Linked DNA regions of Homo sapiens: regions 1, 2, 3, 5 and 6 are each linked to region 4. The links are contacts of gene promoters, found by promoter capture Hi-C in blood cells and fetal thymus (Javierre and others, 2016). All regions are on one chromosome and are shown on one strand. Each heading gives the region's core, a stretch centred on a gene start or on the middle of the fragment in contact. The rest is flanking DNA. Distances are from core to core; before and after follow the strand shown. Region 1 has its middle 170 kb from the start of CXCR4. Region 2 has its middle 200 kb from the start of CXCR4. Region 3 has its middle 220 kb from the start of CXCR4. Region 4 holds the start of DARS1-AS1 (DARS1 antisense RNA 1). Region 5 has its middle 300 kb from the start of CXCR4. Region 6 has its middle 240 kb from the start of CXCR4.

Region 1 (2,700 bases), core at 88-2,587, 300 kb after region 4:
ATATATGCAAAATTTTACATGTAATTTCAGCCTATAATGTCCCCTTGTTAGTGAGGCCCTCTCTGGCTACCCTATCCAAAATGGCAACGGTGCCCCTCCTCACTACAATTTCCTTCCTCCTTGCCTACTTTAAGCTTTCTCCATAGCCTTTATCACTATCTGTGTGAACATCCACAAGTCCCTCAGGAGGGTAGAGTTTCTCAACCTGTAGTTCCTGGACCACATTTACTTAATCAAGATAACCGGGGTGGGACTCAGGATCTGCATTTTCAGAAACTCCCTGAGTTTCTTTTGAACACTGAAGTTTTCCAGCCAGTGAGCTGGGTCCCTGGATTCTTGATTTACAGTTGCAGGGTCAAGTCTGTTGCTGTCTTTCTTAGAGCACCTCCTTGCTCTTCCAGATCCTGCCCTTTAGACAGGAATCTGTCTCCCTCAGCCTACCAGAAGTCTCAGGTAAACTCTCTAATGTTCCAGAGAAACCCCAGGTATTTTCCAAGTTACCTCAGGGGTATGTGGGAATGTGGCTATCTCAATTGTGTGGGTTGGGGGGCTTGGACTAAGGCCTCTGATCTAATGAAAATTATCTCCTTTCCCTCCCCTCTAGTGGTACTTGGAATTCTGTCACTGTCCAGTCATTCTTAAACTCTTTGGCGCCCACCTCTATCATGACAAATAACAAAGACCGTGAACAGCGGGCATATTTGATTCCATCTCTCTGCTCGAAGTTTTCCATTGGCTTCCAGTGGCCTACAGGGGGATGTATATCCCTATTTTTAAAGTTACCAGAAGGCACTTTGAGATGTGGCTGCCATTCACCTTCCAGCCTTGGTCCTAGTGTCTTTACTAAACTCTCCTGCAGGACTAAACTGCGTGTATTTCCTGGAGCTGCCACTTCCTTTCTTGGATATCCTGGATTGTTTCTTTCATCTCTTTACACAAGCCACTCCTTTCCCAAAACTCTCCAATGACTCTCTAGCTGACTCAGAGTACAAGCCAAGACATCACGTGGCTGAACGCGGTGGCTCACACCTGTAATCCCAATAGTTTGGGAGGCCAGGGCAGGAGGATTGCTTGAGCTCCAGAGTTCAAGACCAGGCTGGGCAACATGGCAAAACCCCATCTTTACAAAAAATACAAAAATTAGGTTGAGGTTGCAGTGAGCTGAGATTGTGCCACTGCACTGCAGCCTGAGCAACCCTAGTGAGACCCTGTCTAAAAAAAAAAAAAAAAAAAAAATTAGCCAGGTGTGGTAGCATGTGCCCGTAGTCCCATAGGTACCAGCTACTTGGGAGTCTGAGGTGAGAGAATAGCTTGAGCCCAGGAGGTAGAGGATGCAGTGAGCTGAGATTGTACCATTGCACTCCAGCTTGGGTGACAGAGCAAGACCCTGTCTCAAAACAAAACAAAACAAAAAACAAAAAATCAAACATTAAAGGCGTCATGTTACCTATAGGCTCTACTCGATCTGTCCATCACCCTCCTTGGCTTTGTGCCCTCATCTTCTGCTATTTCCCTGTTTTGTTTTCTGGGGCTGCTGTAACAAAGCACCACAGACTAGGTTGTTTAAACAACAGAAAGTCATTGTCCTGCAGTTCTAGGGGCTAGAAATGTGAAATCAAGGTGTCAGCAGGGCCATGCTCCCTCTGAAACTTGAAGGGAAACATCCTTCCTAGCCTCTTTCTCACTTCTGGTGTTTGCCGGCTCTCTTTCCCTTCCTAGGCTTGTAGCTGAGTCATTCCAGTCCCCTTGGCCTTCTCCCCATGCACCTGCACATGGTCATCTTCATATGAGGACACGAGTCATCCTGGATTAGGGGCCCACCTTACTCCAGTATGACCACGACTACTTACATTTGCAATGAGCTATTTCCAAAAAGGTCACCTCCTGGGGTAGTGGGGATTAGGATGTCAAAATATCTTCTTTTGGGGGATAACATCCCTCCTCTTTCATTCTGCTTCAGTCACACTGACCTAGATAGAGTTGTCAGATTTAGCCAAATAAAAAAAATAAGATGCACAGTGAAATTTGAATTTCAGATAAATAATGAATACTTTTTAGTATAAATGTGTCTCAAATGTTTCATGGAGTTTTTTTTTTTTTTTTTTTTTTTTGCCGAAGTATGTGACCATGCACTATTCGGGATGTACTTATACTAAAAAAGTTATTTATTGTTCATCTGAAATTCATATGTCACTGGGTATCCAGTGTTATGTCTGGCAACTTTTACTTTTTATTCCTTGAACACACCAAGCATGCTCCCACCCGAGGCCTTGGCATTTGCTATCCCATCAGCCTTGAATGCTCTTTCCTGAGATGTCTGGGATGCTCATTCTCTGATGAACTTCAGCAGGGCCTTTCTGGATCCCCTACTCCCTATACACATACCTCCTCTCCTCCTTTTTTGCTTTAATTTTTTTCCCTTATCCCTATAGGGCCATCAATTTCCATTATATGTATATTTCCCCCTTTATCCCTTATCACTAACAGGCTATATATTTTACCTACGGATCATGTTTATTGTCTGTCACCCCCAGGAGAATTTAAGCTTGAAATACTTATTCATTGCTGTCTCTCCAGGGCCTAGAACAATGCCTGGTGCACAGTTGATGTTCAGTAAATCTTCAGTGAATGAATAAAGAGATAAATAAACCCTTTCATTGTCACTCAAGTACTGGAAAGTGGGCATCTGTGGGTTTACCT
Region 2 (2,700 bases), core at 88-2,587, 330 kb after region 4:
TGGGTGTCTCTAGGAGCTTCCAAAGCCTGGTATTAACTGTTAATGGACAAGGTCAAGAAGCACAGCCCCAAATCAGTAAAGAAACTGAAGGTTCAGATTCTTTGAGCATGATGGCCTGGGTTCACTATAGTGTTAGCTGAGGGGGAGGGAAAGCTAAAACATGTGATTCAGAAAGAAGATGAAAAATATCAGATATGGCTTTAGGATCAGCTGCATCAGCAGGAACTAGGATCTCTACCACAGAAGCTTGGGTTTGAAGGTTTTGATAGAGGTTTCAGCTGGCCACCACCTTGAAGATTCTGTGATAGTTTGGACTTAACATAGGGTTGAGCAAAGCTGGGCAGTGTGAGGGGTGGACTGCACTGGGCAGCTTATGTGCCCTGCTTCATATCATGTTGGACCACCTTTTCTCTCCTTTCCCTTCCCCTTCCTTCCCTTTCCCTTTCCCTTCCCCTTCCCCTTCCTTCCCTTTCCCTTCTCTTCTTTCTCTTTTCTTTTCTTTTGTTTTTTTTCTTCCCCCTCCCCTCCCCTCCTCTCCCCTTCCCTTCCCTCCCCTCCTCTCCCCTTCCCTCCCCTCCTCTCCCCTTCCCTCCCCTCCTCTCCCCTTCCCTCCCCTCCTCTCCCCTTCCCTCCCCTCCTCTCCCCTTCCCTCCCCTCCCCTCCTCTCCCCTTCCCTCCCCTCCTCTCCCCTTCCCTCCCCTCCCCTCCGGTCCCCTCCCCTCCTCTCCTCTCCTCTCTCCTCTTTCCTCTCCTTTCCTTTCCAGAAGGCGTCTCACTCTGTTGCCCAGGCTGGAGTGCAGTGGCACAATAATGGTTCACTGCAACCTCCACCTCCCAGACTCAAGCAATCCTCCCACCTCAGCCTCTGGAGTAGCTGGAACCACAGGTGTGTACCACAATGCCCGGCTAAATTTTGTATTTTTTTTTTTTCATAGAGACGGGATTGTGCCATGTTGTCCAGGCTGTTCTCAAACTCCTGGGCTCAAGCGACACACCTGCCTCGGCCTCCCAAAGTGCCAGGACTATAGGTGTGAGCTACCGCACCCAGTCTTGGCCCACCTTTTTAATTTCAACATTGCTATAGCAACCAGCTCATGCAGGTATATTCTGAGAACACCTTTCTTCAAACATTCCTCACTTCTCTTGCTTTCTGCCATGGGACTTCTCGGCTACTGTGATGGGAGATGTCCAGCCATTCTGATACATTAAAAAACCTGGACAGCAGTGGCTCACGCCTATAATCCCAGCACTTTGGGAGGCCGAGGTGGGTGGATGACCTGAGGTCAGGAGTTGAAGACCAGCCTGACCAACATGGAGAAACCCTGTCTCTACTAAAAATACAAAATTAGCCGGGTGTGGTGGCACATGCCTGTAATCCCAGCTACTCAGGAGGCCGAGGCAGGAGAATCGCTTGAACCCAGGAGGCGGAGGTTGCGGTGAGCCAAGATCATGCCATTGCACTCCAGCCTGGGCAACAAGAGCAAAACTTCATCTCAAAACAAAAACAAAAACACCTGGACATTTGAAGGTATTACTACCCTTCGGGGCAACCCTAGACCAGGGATGACAGAACCCTGTGGATAAATGCCCCTATATTCTTTTCTTCAGATGGACATATCCAAGGTAGATTTTATACAGATCCTCAGAGAATCCCCAGTGGGACTGGTCCTCAGGAATTCATAGAGATGATCAGCTTGAAAATGAATGCCAGTATAGGCTTTCCCTTTCCCTCTGCTCTGTTCTTCCTAGTCAATCATGCCTGTTTCCTGGGATCACTTCCTAACATAAACTACCTGTGTGCAAGTCCCTGTCTCAGGCTCTGAATTTGGTGAAACTCAGACAGAGAGAGATAAAAACTGTTCTAATTCCCTATCCTGAATATATTGGCTTTTCCCTCCTGCAAATTGTGTGTGCGTGTAACATAAATTTATAACAATAATTAATAGATTTATAAAATTAATCAGCTTTACAGTCAAGGATTGAGAGGCTTGGTTCTGAAATCTGTGTGATCATTGAAATTGCTTGGAGACGCCCTCAAACCTACCATGGCAGAATCTCCGGGGTTTTGGTCCAGAACCTTACATTTTCTTAAAATTCTATGATTCATTCTATACCAGCTGTATTCCAGAACTACTGATTGGGATGCTCTAAGTCTGTTCCAGTGACAGAGGATTAAGAACTCATGAACTCCCAGACATTGTCAAGCAAGAGGATGATGTATAGGACCCTAAACTTTCTTTAGGCAGAGAGAGTCAGAGGAAAGGCAGGTGCACATGAGATTTTCAAAAGGCTGTGTGCTCTGTCAGATGCCTCACAACATTTCCTGGTGTTACATGGGGTGGCTGATATTTTGGTTTGGCTTGATAAAATACTTTGTGAAGTTGCTGGCTTGTTCCAGTTTTGAAATTGTCATGGCATTCATTGCTTCAAAAGCTTCTTCTCTTTTCTCTGTAGATGACTATGCTCTCTTCTGCATCTGAGAGCCCTCTATTTAGTTCTAAAGGCATTCAAGTTTACAACACACGGAGAAAACAACAATCATGCTACATTTTCACTTGTTGAAAGTTCTGAGAATATAAGTTTTTAATGTGTAAATTCTATGACATTTGAAAATTCTTTTTTTTTTAAAGATATTAGCTTAAGAATCACAAGAGATGGTCTCCCTTGATCCTGCCTTAAAGAGGCCTTCAGAGCATTTTA
Region 3 (2,700 bases), core at 28-2,527, 350 kb after region 4:
GCTCCAGGCATTCCTTGGCTTGCAGTGGCATTGCTCTAACCTCTGCCTGTCTTGACATTACCTCTTCCTCTTCGGTAGGTGTAATCTGCCACTGCCTCTTTCTCATAAGGACATTTATCATTAGACTTAGGGTCTACCTGGCTAATCTAGGATAATCTCTTTATCTGAAGATCCTTCATTACATCTGCAAAGAGTCTTTTTCCAAATAAGGTAACACTCATATTCATATTGATGAATAAGGCCCCCTAAAATGATGTATCAACATCCTAATCCCTGGAATCTTATTTATCACTGTGAATACGAGTGTTGCCCATATCTGTTTACATAGCATCTGTGTGTGTATTAGTATGTCCTTGCACTGCTGTAAAGAAATACCTGAGACTGGGTAATTTATAACAAAAAGAGGTTTGATTGGCGCACAGTTCTGCGGGCTGTGCAGGAAACATGGTGGCATCTGCTTGGCTTTTGGGGAGGCCTCTGGAAACTTACAATCATGGCAAAGGCAAAGGGGGAGCAAGGCATCTCACATGGTGGGAGCAGGAGCAAGAGAGAGGTGGGGAAAGTGCTATACACTTTTAAACAACCAGATCTTGTGATAACTCACTCACTATCATGAGAACAGCAGCAAAGGGATGTTGCTAACCCATTCATGAAGGACCACCCTCATGATCTGGCCACCTCCCACCAGGCTCCACCTTCAACATTGGGGATTACAATTCGACATATCAGTGTGGTAGAGTGCCTTGTCCTCAATTCTTCACCCCTCCCTGTTTCCCATTGACATGTGGGTTTGCAGTTCCTCCTCCTAGAGGCAGAATATTGCCTCATCCCACTGAGATTGGACTTGGCCACATAACTTGCTTTGACCAATTGGATGTTATTAGATATGATGTGAGCAAAAGCTTTACATGTGCTTCAGAATTGAGCCTGTGCTCTTGTGCTTCAGCTATTGCCATGAAAAGAACACAATCCAGCTAGTCCACAGCTCCAAAGTGGTTTAGAGAGACATGGAGATGGCATGGGTTCAGCCTGCAGTTTGAAATCTGGCCTAGCTAAGCCTAACCTAGATCAGCCAATTGATGGGTAACCTACTGGTACCTAGGTAAGACTCATTGGTTGTTGTTTTAGTCCACGCCACTCTATTTTGGAATGGCATATTGCAGCGATGGCTGACTGATACATTCTGCCTCTGTACTTGTCATAGACACCTCCCCTCATCCACATCCCCACTGTTACTGCTACATTACTTTTCAGCGGTACCAGCAGCACTAGCAGGACTTACAGCCCTAGGTGCTAAGGTCACTCCTTGCCATAGGGCTGGGTTCCTGAGGGGCATGCCCAGGCCTTGGGAGAGAGGAAGATGGGTCCTTTTCCTATCTTGCACCATGCTGCAACTGCCCCCTCTCGCAATCTTCCCAGGAGAGACCTAGCATCTGCATATAGCCAGTTTTCTGAAGATGAGCCTGCAGATATAGCCACCCCCTCACCCCGTCTGTAGGTGTGGCATCTCCCTAGCTGGTTATAGACATGGATATTTGCAACTTGAATTGAACCAGCCAATTTAAATTGACTTCCATCCTTTCTACCTCTCTAACTGCCCACACCCAGGCCTTTGCTTCTAGCAATATTGAGGGGAATGGCATTATGGCAGAGAAGCTTTTTGGAGACACAAAAGGGGACAGCCAATCTAAATTCCTGTGACTTCGGTAATTAGCAGCCAGCCAGGGTGGCCACCAGTGGTTTTCTCTGAGTGGTAGAATTATGGAGGTTTTAAAAACAGTTCTTTGTTCTGCGGATTTTCTAAGTCCTCCAAATTGGATATTTTTCTTGAATCTGAGAAACAATAAATGTTAATAAAAACCAATGAAACAGCCCCACTGCTTTGAGTGAAGCCCTGAGGGCTGGGACGAGTTGGGAGGCAGGCAGGGTGGCTGAGACAGTAGATGAAACCATAGCCAGGGGAGTCAGCACCCAGCGCCTCTTGCAGCAGCAGCCCACCACTGTGGAGTTCACCTCGTCACTTGGTGCTGGCCTCCCCTGAGGGTCAAGGCTTCTAACCTTAGCTGGGCAGCTTGCAAAGAAGGTATGGGGGATACCTGAGGACCAGTGAGGGAGTAGGACCAAATCAAACTAAATGCATCAGCACTGTAGGGGTTCCTTGCTTTGTGTGGTAAATGGATTTCTGAAAAATCATGCGAGTTACAATTCTAAATCTAAAACCATTTTACATGTGCCTGGGGAGTTTCCTGAATAAAAGGATCCTATTGTGAAGCCTTGAGTTAAGTGAATAGTCCTTCTCCATTTTGTCTTTGGCATAAATCTGGATTTTCACTTAGAGTTTTTTGGGTTTCCATGAAAAGGCAGATGATAGGAGTTCTGGAAAAGCATATCGTGGAACTTCTGCTTAGGGTTTATGGCCAGTGGCATCATCTCTAATTGGATTATGGCTCCTGTTTAAGTCCCAGTCCTGGACCTAACATGCTATGTCCTTTGCATGTCCTGCCTGGAATGCTCTCCACCTAGATATGCCTATGGCTCCCTCCCTCTCATCCTTAAGGCTTGTGCTCAGATGCCACTCATCTTCTTAGTGAAACCTTGCACATCATCCTATTTAAAATTGTAATTCTCCAGTACCCTCTTGCCCTTTTGCCTGCTTAGTTTTCCCTATGGTACTTATTACTACTCGTTGTACTGTAGGCA
Region 4 (2,700 bases), core at 76-2,575:
ATTACAGGAAGAAATGTTCAAAGAGAACCAACGTTTTGGGTAAGCTTTCTGAGCACCAGATGTCCACAGTTTTTAGAAACTGGAGATGCTGGGTATAAGCTAACTACAACTTTCCTTTTGTAAAACATCATCAAAAAATTCACCAGCTTCCTGTTTCTAAAAACCAGATTCAGGATACCAGGTTACAGGAGTTTGACACTGACAATATAATAATATCAAATTTCTTGTTACAGATTAGAGTTAGGAACAGGAAACAGAAGACCTAGGGTCCAATCTGTTAACAAAATATACTTATTAAATAGATAAGTGGCCTTTATTTCAATCTTACTTTACCTCTAAAATGATCTAAGATTCTTCTAGCTATAAAATGGCATAACTCTGCCACAATGTCTACCTTGTATCTAGACCTATACTATCTGTAAGGGTACACTGATAGTTTATGTAATTAAGCAGATTAAGAGTACACAAAAATAATTGCCCTAGTTTTTACAAGGTAACTTAAGATCTGTATGAAACAATTAAGTTTCTGTCACTTTACAGCTACCTGTTGGAATCCTCTCCTTTAGAGCAGGAGGGTGCTGGATTTTGTGTTTACACCAAAATAAAACCAGACATGTTTAAGGCGCTTACTGAACAATTTAAAGAAAAAGATAACCCTGGCCAGAGTAGAGAGATACAGTCACACAATGAAGCCTGAGGGCAACAGAAGGAGATTAAATTGTGTGAAGGACAAAAAAGTTGCATTCATAATTAGTACTATTAATATTTCAGTGACTCTTCCTCATTTAGTATTCTAAGATGACCTTACTTCTCATGTTGCTTACCACAAACTCAGAACTCCTTATAGAAAAATTAGGGAGCCAGACGGAAATTAAGGCTTAACAGTACTACAGCACACATAACTTGTAGGATGGTTTCAAACTTTGATTTCTGAAAAGCACCGAAGGATCACTGGGTGTTATGAATTATCCACGTGATTTGGGGTCACTTCACCTCAAATGCATTCTCGGTAACTCCTATTACCTACCTTACCGGGTCACTGAGAGGGAGAAAGTAAATAAAAATGACATGTGTTCTTTAAAGCTGTCACATGGGAAATGGTCATTAAACATATTGGCAGATGGTTTTGCTAAGTACTGTCATTACTTGCTAAAGCATTAGGAACACGAGGGCTGAGTACATATCGATTACTAGTGCTTATTAAAATTTTCCCAGGGATTGTGCATTACGTGCAGGACGTGCCTAACCCAGAGAGACTCAAGTGTGACGCCGCGCTCCTACTTCCGGGGCGGCTGGTTCTTCCCGTCCTCCCCACCCCGGGGACACGCTTCTAGTAGGCCAAACTCCCAGGTGACCCCCGCAAGAAACGCGGTCCGGAGAGGGTCTGGCCCCACTGCTGGGGCAAGGGCTCTAGGCGCCCGGACCCCACGCCCGCAGCCTGCGGAGAACGTGCCGACAAGGACCTGTAGGGCCCCACTCCCCCTCCTCCCTCCCTCGGCGCAGCCCGGCCCAGGGGTCTGTCCTCCCAGGCCCAGGAAAGGAGGAAACCCACTTCCGCCGCGTCCATGATCTCCCGCGGCTTCTCCTGACTCTTGCGGCTGGCGCTGGCGCTGGGCATCGGGACACGGAACTGGGCAGTGGACACCACCCTCCCTCGCAGGCTTCCGTAAGGCAGGCCAAAGGGGCTTCTCCCTCCCTCCCAGTCTCCGCCCTCCCGACCCTGGGGTCTCAGCACACGCGCTCGGACTCCGCGTGGAGGTGCGGCTCCAGAAAGATCGCGAGAGCTGCGGCTATCTCGAGATCCCGGAGCGCTGGCGGCCGCGCGCAGGGTCTCCTCCCACTCTTGCCCCGCCCCTCCGGGAGTTTTCCCGGAGTTGGAGGGAATTCCCGGGAATTCGCGGTAGTTTCGCTGGATTGGCTCTGGGGGCGGGGGCAGGGGTTACCAGGTGGCTGGCTGTAGACCTGGGCGAATGCCAGCTCTCTTCAGCTTCGTCCCAACTGCGACTTCTGCTCCATTCTTCTAACAGCCCTTTCAACTCCGCTCGGCTGTAACCGCAGACTCGTCACTAAAACACCCACCTAAGCGCGGGCCTTGGTTTCTCCTCTCTTGGACTTTCCCGCCTTCTCTCTTCCCCTGGGCGACGTAGCTGCTTGGGGACGGAGGAGGCCTCTTCGCAATCCATTGCCCTGCTTGTTGGGACAGAGGAGTGCAGTTGGCTTGCCAAGGCAGCATGGGTTACCAGTCCCTGTGTAAGTGAGGTGTAAATACAGTGGCAACGACAACAAGAAACGCATACAATTGCATTGATTGCCTGGATCTGTTGCAGTGTTAGGGACAGTGCATAGTGTTGGTTGCCCAATGGGCGAATATCCCCAAGTTAGGCTTTTTTAAAAAACTGATTTTTTAAAAAAGCTATCATTCATGAGTTTTGAATCGAAATTGAAAATAATTTGGAGATTTGGTTTAATACTGTTTCCCCTGCCAGAGTTTGCACTCCGTCGTTTCAACTGACTTGGTAGTGTCTTAGTCTGGCACAAAGTGTTAAGGGGTGCACATAGATCCCAGCGCAAGTGAAAGGCTCTCTCTGGAGGCTCCCCCATGGAGTAGTGAGAAGACAGCCATGGTCCTTGCTTGCCTGTAGCTTTCCTTCTAATTGCAGGTGGTATGAAATTTTATTCCCTATTTAATTGATCAAAGAT
Region 5 (2,700 bases), core at 44-2,543, 430 kb after region 4:
AGTGTTTGATTTCTGCTGTAGCCCTGGCAGATGACAACAGATTGTTGGGTATGAACAAGAGAAGATTATTTTCTATCTGATCATTCTTTGTGTGTATTTGGGGTGACCGAAGGTTTTTAATATTGAAAAGTCAAACAGCCTGGACCATTTCACCCACCATCAGCTTAGCCTATTATTTACAGTCCCATTCCTTTAACTTTCCAGTTCTTGGAAAAAAAAAATCAACTATCGACTGTTTGGACAGATAATGTGGGAAGATGAAAGTGGGAGATAAATACACATCTTCCATTACTCTTAGATCTCTTCTGGAGTCTTCGGTTGACACACAGTCTCCTATTTGTGCCTTATGTGGGTGTCCCATGAGAAAGGTCCATGGATATGGCAAGTATTCTTTAACCATGTCATGCCAAGGATTTGGGCATAGCAAGGGACTAAGTGCCTGGAAGAAATATTTCAGCATCTGGGGAGTTCTTTAAAATACACAGATAATTACTTCGAGATTTCTATAATTTAACTGCAAGTGTTAAAAATATATTTCCGAGGATTGATTGGGTGCTAAGCCAGTGTTTACATCTGGGAGGTAGGTCAGGGACAGGGGGCGGTGACAAGGAAGAAAGGGACATTAAGACTGTGACTGGTCTGGGATTTTACCCCACTTGCCAGCCGACAAGTTAACCTGCCACAGTTTAATGGATGCTGGTGGACTCCTGGGTCAGAGACAAATAACTTTACTATATTCCACATTAGCAGTAACCAGAATATCAACATTTGTATCAGGGCAATGTGGAGAAGGCCAGGTAATGCCTGTGTGTGCAGTGAGTTGTGTTACAGAGGTACCCTGAGTTCAGGGAATCCAAATCTTTTCTAACAGGGAATAAGCATGGCTGGGCTTAACTCCAGAGGCAGATGCCATCTTTATGACGTGGGCAATAAACAACCTTGCTCTTTGCTCTGGAGGGAGGCACAATTTCTGTCTTCCAAGGCTGCTCTCTATACAAACATCCTGGGAAAGATAGTCTCCAGCAAAGGCAGTCAGACACATGGAGAATTGTCTTCCAAGAGGGACTTAGAAATATTTTGGCCATAAAGATGAAATTAACTCCCTCCCCGCCAGCTCCCTTAGGTGAGTTTACCCCTTGGGTCACAGTAGCTTTTTCTCTTTAACTTCCAAGGAAATCCAAGGAGACACATTTCTATCTGAACTCAAGGCACAAGTCAAACCCTTCCTGGGGTCAAAGGCTGAGAAGAATTGTGAAAGCTCTGTCCACTTCATGACCTGTATATCCCTTTTACTTTGCTGCTCATTGCAAGGTAGTTGAACATTCCGACTATTAGAAATGCTAATTTTACATCATCTTTAACCTCGAAGGGACTGCAGGTTGTTGCCTGGGTCAGTCCTTGACTGAGACAGACTTTACATTTTGGGCAACTAAGGTTTGGAAGAATTAAGTGTCGTCTTCAAAGTCATTCAATAAAGACCTAGTGGAACGATGATTCCAAGTGAGGTCCACGGAAATGGAAAATTTCCTGTCATTTTCCTCAAAACCAGAGTTTTGACTAGGGAATCTTTTTAGACAGGATCGACCAAGAAAGGTTGAGGGGAAACTAAGATGAAAGATGGGTGATGGTCCTCAGAATACCTTTCCTTAGCAGTTGTCCAGAAAGCAGTGTGTGAAAGAGATTGCCAGTTGCCTACCCAGTATCCATGCTCTCTTGTTTTTTTAGGATAAGATCCCTGTATATTTGAGTATGGCAATTCTTCCAACTTTTATTTAGTTTTTAATTTTAAAATTTCTAATTTTAAAGATTTTAATTTGTTTTTAATTGAAAAATAAAAATTGCATATATTTATCATGTAGAATGGGTTTTGAAATACGTGTCCATCATGGAATGGCTAAATCAAGCTAATTAACATATGTATTGTCTCACATACTTATCTTTTTGTGGTGAGAACATTTAAAATCTCTTTGAATTTTTCAAGATGCCCTGCTTAAAAAAACAAACATATTTGTTAGCTTTCCTTGAGGTTGGGGTGGTCAATGAGGTGTGAGTGGAAGTCACTTCCAGCAAAATTCCTTCAAGGGGATTCACCTGGCTGGCAGGAGACCCATTCCTTTCCCCGTCTCCCTTCTCCCTGCCTGGAACATGGCTAGGATAACAAGTCCCAGTGACAGTCCTGGGATGGTGAGGAGACCTCATGGATGGAATCTGAGTGGAAGATGGTGGAGCAGAAAGTGAGAAGAAGCCTGGGTCATCGCTAACACCATAGGGCACCACGCCAGCCCTGGACAATGCACTTTTGGATTTCTTCTGTGTGAGCGAAAAATGATGCCTCCTTTTTTTTTTTGCCACTGTATTTTTGGGTAGCAGGTGAATGTTAATTTTTAACAGATAGTGGGTGCTTACTGATACCTAACTGTGATCCCTGAATGTTCATTGTATCCAGTCGAGTTTCTTAGTTGCAAGTAACAGAAAGTTTGGCAACCTTTAGCAAAAAAAGGACTAATGAACTTTTTAAGAAGGTTTACAGGGTCAAATAATGGAAGTGATGGCTGAGGAACTTGGAGCAGGTGGGCACCAGATTGTTCCAGAACATCTTATAGTGGGCTCTGCTCATTGTTCTCTCCAGGGCTCCACAGGAATCAATGGATCCTAATTTCTTGTCTGTCCTTGTGTCACTGTCAAGATTCAACATCTCAG
Region 6 (2,700 bases), core at 77-2,576, 370 kb after region 4:
ATACCTAGGGGTGGAATTTCTGGGTCCTGTGGTGACTCTAGGTTTAACTTTTTGAGAAACTGCCACTATTTTCCAAAGGGGCTGCACCATTTTCCATTCTCACCAGCAGTATATGGGGGTTCGTCGTCCACATCCTCTCAATGCTTATTATTGTCTGTCTTTTTATTGTAGCCATCTTAGTGGGTGTGAAGTGGCAGTCCTCTCATTTTGAGAATGAATAAGCTGAGGGCAGAGAGGAGCTGTGACCTGTTTAGCATCATTGTCTGTCAGTCTCTGGACAGCAAATCTCTGTAACTCCCAATCTGATGCATGTTCCCATCAGAACAGGCATCCTTTCTCAACATTGAGAAAGGAGCAAAGGCAGAGCAGGAAGTGAGGCTGCAATGAAGCCAGGCTTCCCCCACCAGCTATTATGATAGAACTCAATGGCTCACCATGAGTGGAGGATGGCAGCAGTGGGCCTCGGGGGAGGGGGTTCCCACCCAGTGGGCAGTCTGGCTGGGGTTTGCCCAGGCCCTTGCAGGCCTCACTTTACTTTCTAAACTTTTCTTTGATGGCAGAGAGCTTCAACAATGACATAAATTGGCTTCACCTACACATGATTGAGAACCTATTCAAAACTAGTCATAGTTTTACACGTTGGAGCCAAGATAGGAGGTAAATAAAATGGGGCTGAAATTCAACATACAAATGTATAGTCTCAATATGATTCTGTCAAGTGTTGACAACAGAAGGTAGAAGTAGGGCACAAAGGGAACACAGACAAGGGGCTCCAACCCATTCTGGAAAAGTGGAGCAGGAGCTGAAGGTTGAAGGCCTTAAAGTGATGGTGGGAAGCTTGCCAGGCTTGCTCTGCAGACAGAGGTGGGTGAAGTATACAAGCAACTTCCCTGGGAAGGGAGGGAATGGCTTTGAAAGTCAAGTAGCAAGTCCAACAGCCCAAGGCTGCAGTGCCTTGGTGGGTCTCAACAGAGCTTTGCACAGCTGAAAAAGCATTCCTAGCAATGGGCCTATCAGCTTTATATGTGCCGGACCTATAAGCAACCCAACACATAGAATGCAAGCTGAGGACTTTTGGACAAGTGCTAAGAGGTGGAGTGAGAAAGGCGAGCATGGACTAGCTGAGAAAATAACCCTCACAGCCACGAATCAAGCTCTGTGCTTGAATGTGTACCTTATGGAAAGTATGAGGTATCAGGCTGGCTTTGTTGGTAACTCCTCCCCGACATGCAGCATGACTATTTTTCAGTTATGAAGGAAATATTATATCCCAAACAGCCCTACAAATAAAGCCTACTTTGATTCATCTTTTCCATCTTGGTTTGCATAATGCACCATTTTTTTTTTTTAAACATCAGTGTGGTTTCTGCCCAGGTGGGCCTCAGCAAATTGTGAAATAGCTGAGGTTTCTTCCTCAGACCATGTAAGGCTATTATAACTCCACCTCCTCCTGATATACTGTGGAGAGTGATGTATACAGGTGTAATGTGCCCTAGGTGCTGTTACTGTAAAGTTGAATACATTTTTTATTTTAAACCTTGGTTTTAAACTCTTTACTCTTGCAAGTTGTGTTTCCAGTGCTTTGTGCTGGTAGAGATATCTGCTGAGTTCGCTTTGAGGGTCTTTTATATGAAAATCTAAGATCGGTTGACTAGTGACCTTGGCATGCAAACATGAATGTTTGCAGCAAATTTCAGCTGATATTCAAAGTTATTTCTAGTGTAAGAATTCTGGCAGGCTCTAGAATTTATACCTAGGAACATGTAGGAATGGTAATTTTTGAGTTATAAGAGGGTGAGAGAGTAGGAACCTGTCTAAAGCTTTTAAAATAAATTGGTTAGATTATATATTACCAATTGATAAAGAAATATTTCTTAAGACATTTAGTCACATTTTAAGTAGGTGAGGAGATGGTAATTGTTCATATCACAGAATGTTATTTTTAAAAATTGGGATTGCTAGGTGGGTGCCCCAGGTCTCTAAACTAGTGGTCCCTAACCTTTTTGGCACCAGGGACCAGTTTCATGGAAGAAAATTTTTCCATGGACCCAGGGAGGGGGGATGGTTTCAGGATGATTCAAGGGCATTACATTTATTGTGCTTTCTTTTCTTTTCTTTTTTTTTTTCTTTTCTTTCTTTTTTTTTGAGACAGGGTCTCTCTCTGTCACCCAGGCTGGAGTGCAGCCAATCTCGAGATTGCACCAACCTCCACTCACTGCAACCTCTGCTTCCCAGGTTCAAGCAATTCTTCCACTTCAGACTCCCACATAGCTGGGACCACAGGCATGCACCACTATGCCCAGTGAATTTTTGTATTTTTAGTAGAGACGGGGTTTCACCCCATTGGCCAGGCTGGTCTCAAACTCCTGACCTCAAGTGATCTGCCTGCCGTGGCCTCCCAAAGTGCTGGGATTGCAGGCGTGAGCCACTGCGCCTGGCCTGTGTAAATGAAATAATTATACAACTCACCATCAGGTAGAATCAGTGGGAGCCCTAAGCTTGTTTTCCTGCAACTAGATGGTCCTGTCTAGGGGTAATGGGAGACAATGACAGATCAGCAGGCCTTAGATTCTCATGAGGAAAGCACAACCTAGATCCCTCGCATGTGCAGCTTTGCGCTCTATGAGAATCTAATGCCACCTGTGATCTGACAGGAGGCAGGGCTCAGGCAGTAGTGCTTGCTCACTGGCCACTCACCTC

Evidence for each region. The method cuts DNA at HindIII sites, captures the fragments that hold promoters and counts their contacts. A CHiCAGO score of 5 or more calls a contact.
Region 1: a contact is called between a fragment that was not itself captured here and the fragment with the promoter of DARS1-AS1 in region 4, in 1 of 17 cell types (activated CD4 T cells). The highest score is 5.3, in activated CD4 T cells.
Region 2: a fragment that was not itself captured here is called in contact with the fragment with the promoter of DARS1-AS1 in region 4 in 2 of 17 cell types (neutrophils and activated CD4 T cells); the score reaches 6.8 in neutrophils.
Region 3: a fragment that was not itself captured here is called in contact with the fragment with the promoter of DARS1-AS1 in region 4 in 7 of 17 cell types (non-activated CD4 T cells, monocytes, neutrophils and 4 more); the score reaches 9.3 in non-activated CD4 T cells.
Region 5: a contact is called between a fragment that was not itself captured here and the fragment with the promoter of DARS1-AS1 in region 4, in 1 of 17 cell types (naive B cells). The highest score is 5.2, in naive B cells.
Region 6: a contact is called between a fragment that was not itself captured here and the fragment with the promoter of DARS1-AS1 in region 4, in 5 of 17 cell types (non-activated CD4 T cells, total CD4 T cells, naive CD8 T cells and 2 more). The highest score is 11.6, in non-activated CD4 T cells.

The regions. Positions count from the first base shown.
Region 1 is chr2:136,284,854-136,287,553 of GRCh38, forward strand. No RefSeq gene overlaps it. Among named protein-coding and RNA genes, the nearest start is that of CXCR4, 170 kb to the left of the region's middle. The HindIII fragment of the contact is 2,411 bases long and covers 133-2,543 here.
Region 2 is chr2:136,314,059-136,316,758 of GRCh38, forward strand. No RefSeq gene overlaps it. Among named protein-coding and RNA genes, the nearest start is that of CXCR4, 200 kb to the left of the region's middle. The HindIII fragment of the contact is 2,187 bases long and covers 245-2,431 here.
Region 3 is chr2:136,334,371-136,337,070 of GRCh38, forward strand. No RefSeq gene overlaps it. Among named protein-coding and RNA genes, the nearest start is that of CXCR4, 220 kb to the left of the region's middle. The HindIII fragment of the contact is 754 bases long and covers 901-1,654 here.
Region 4 is chr2:135,983,851-135,986,550 of GRCh38, forward strand. It overlaps DARS1-AS1 (DARS1 antisense RNA 1), which reads left to right and starts at 1,326. Exons shown (of 4, transcript NR_110199.1): 1 at 1,326-1,666. DARS1 (aspartyl-tRNA synthetase 1) reads right to left here and starts at 1,776. Exons shown (of 16, transcript NM_001349.4): 1 at 1,553-1,776. The coding sequence starts at 1,618. RefSeq lists a silencer at 1,413-1,472 and an enhancer at 1,523-1,622. The HindIII fragment of the contact is 7,953 bases long and covers 43-2,700 here.
Region 5 is chr2:136,417,718-136,420,417 of GRCh38, forward strand. No RefSeq gene overlaps it. Among named protein-coding and RNA genes, the nearest start is that of CXCR4, 300 kb to the left of the region's middle. The HindIII fragment of the contact is 7,220 bases long and covers 1-2,700 here.
Region 6 is chr2:136,358,336-136,361,035 of GRCh38, forward strand. No RefSeq gene overlaps it. Among named protein-coding and RNA genes, the nearest start is that of CXCR4, 240 kb to the left of the region's middle. The HindIII fragment of the contact is 983 bases long and covers 836-1,818 here.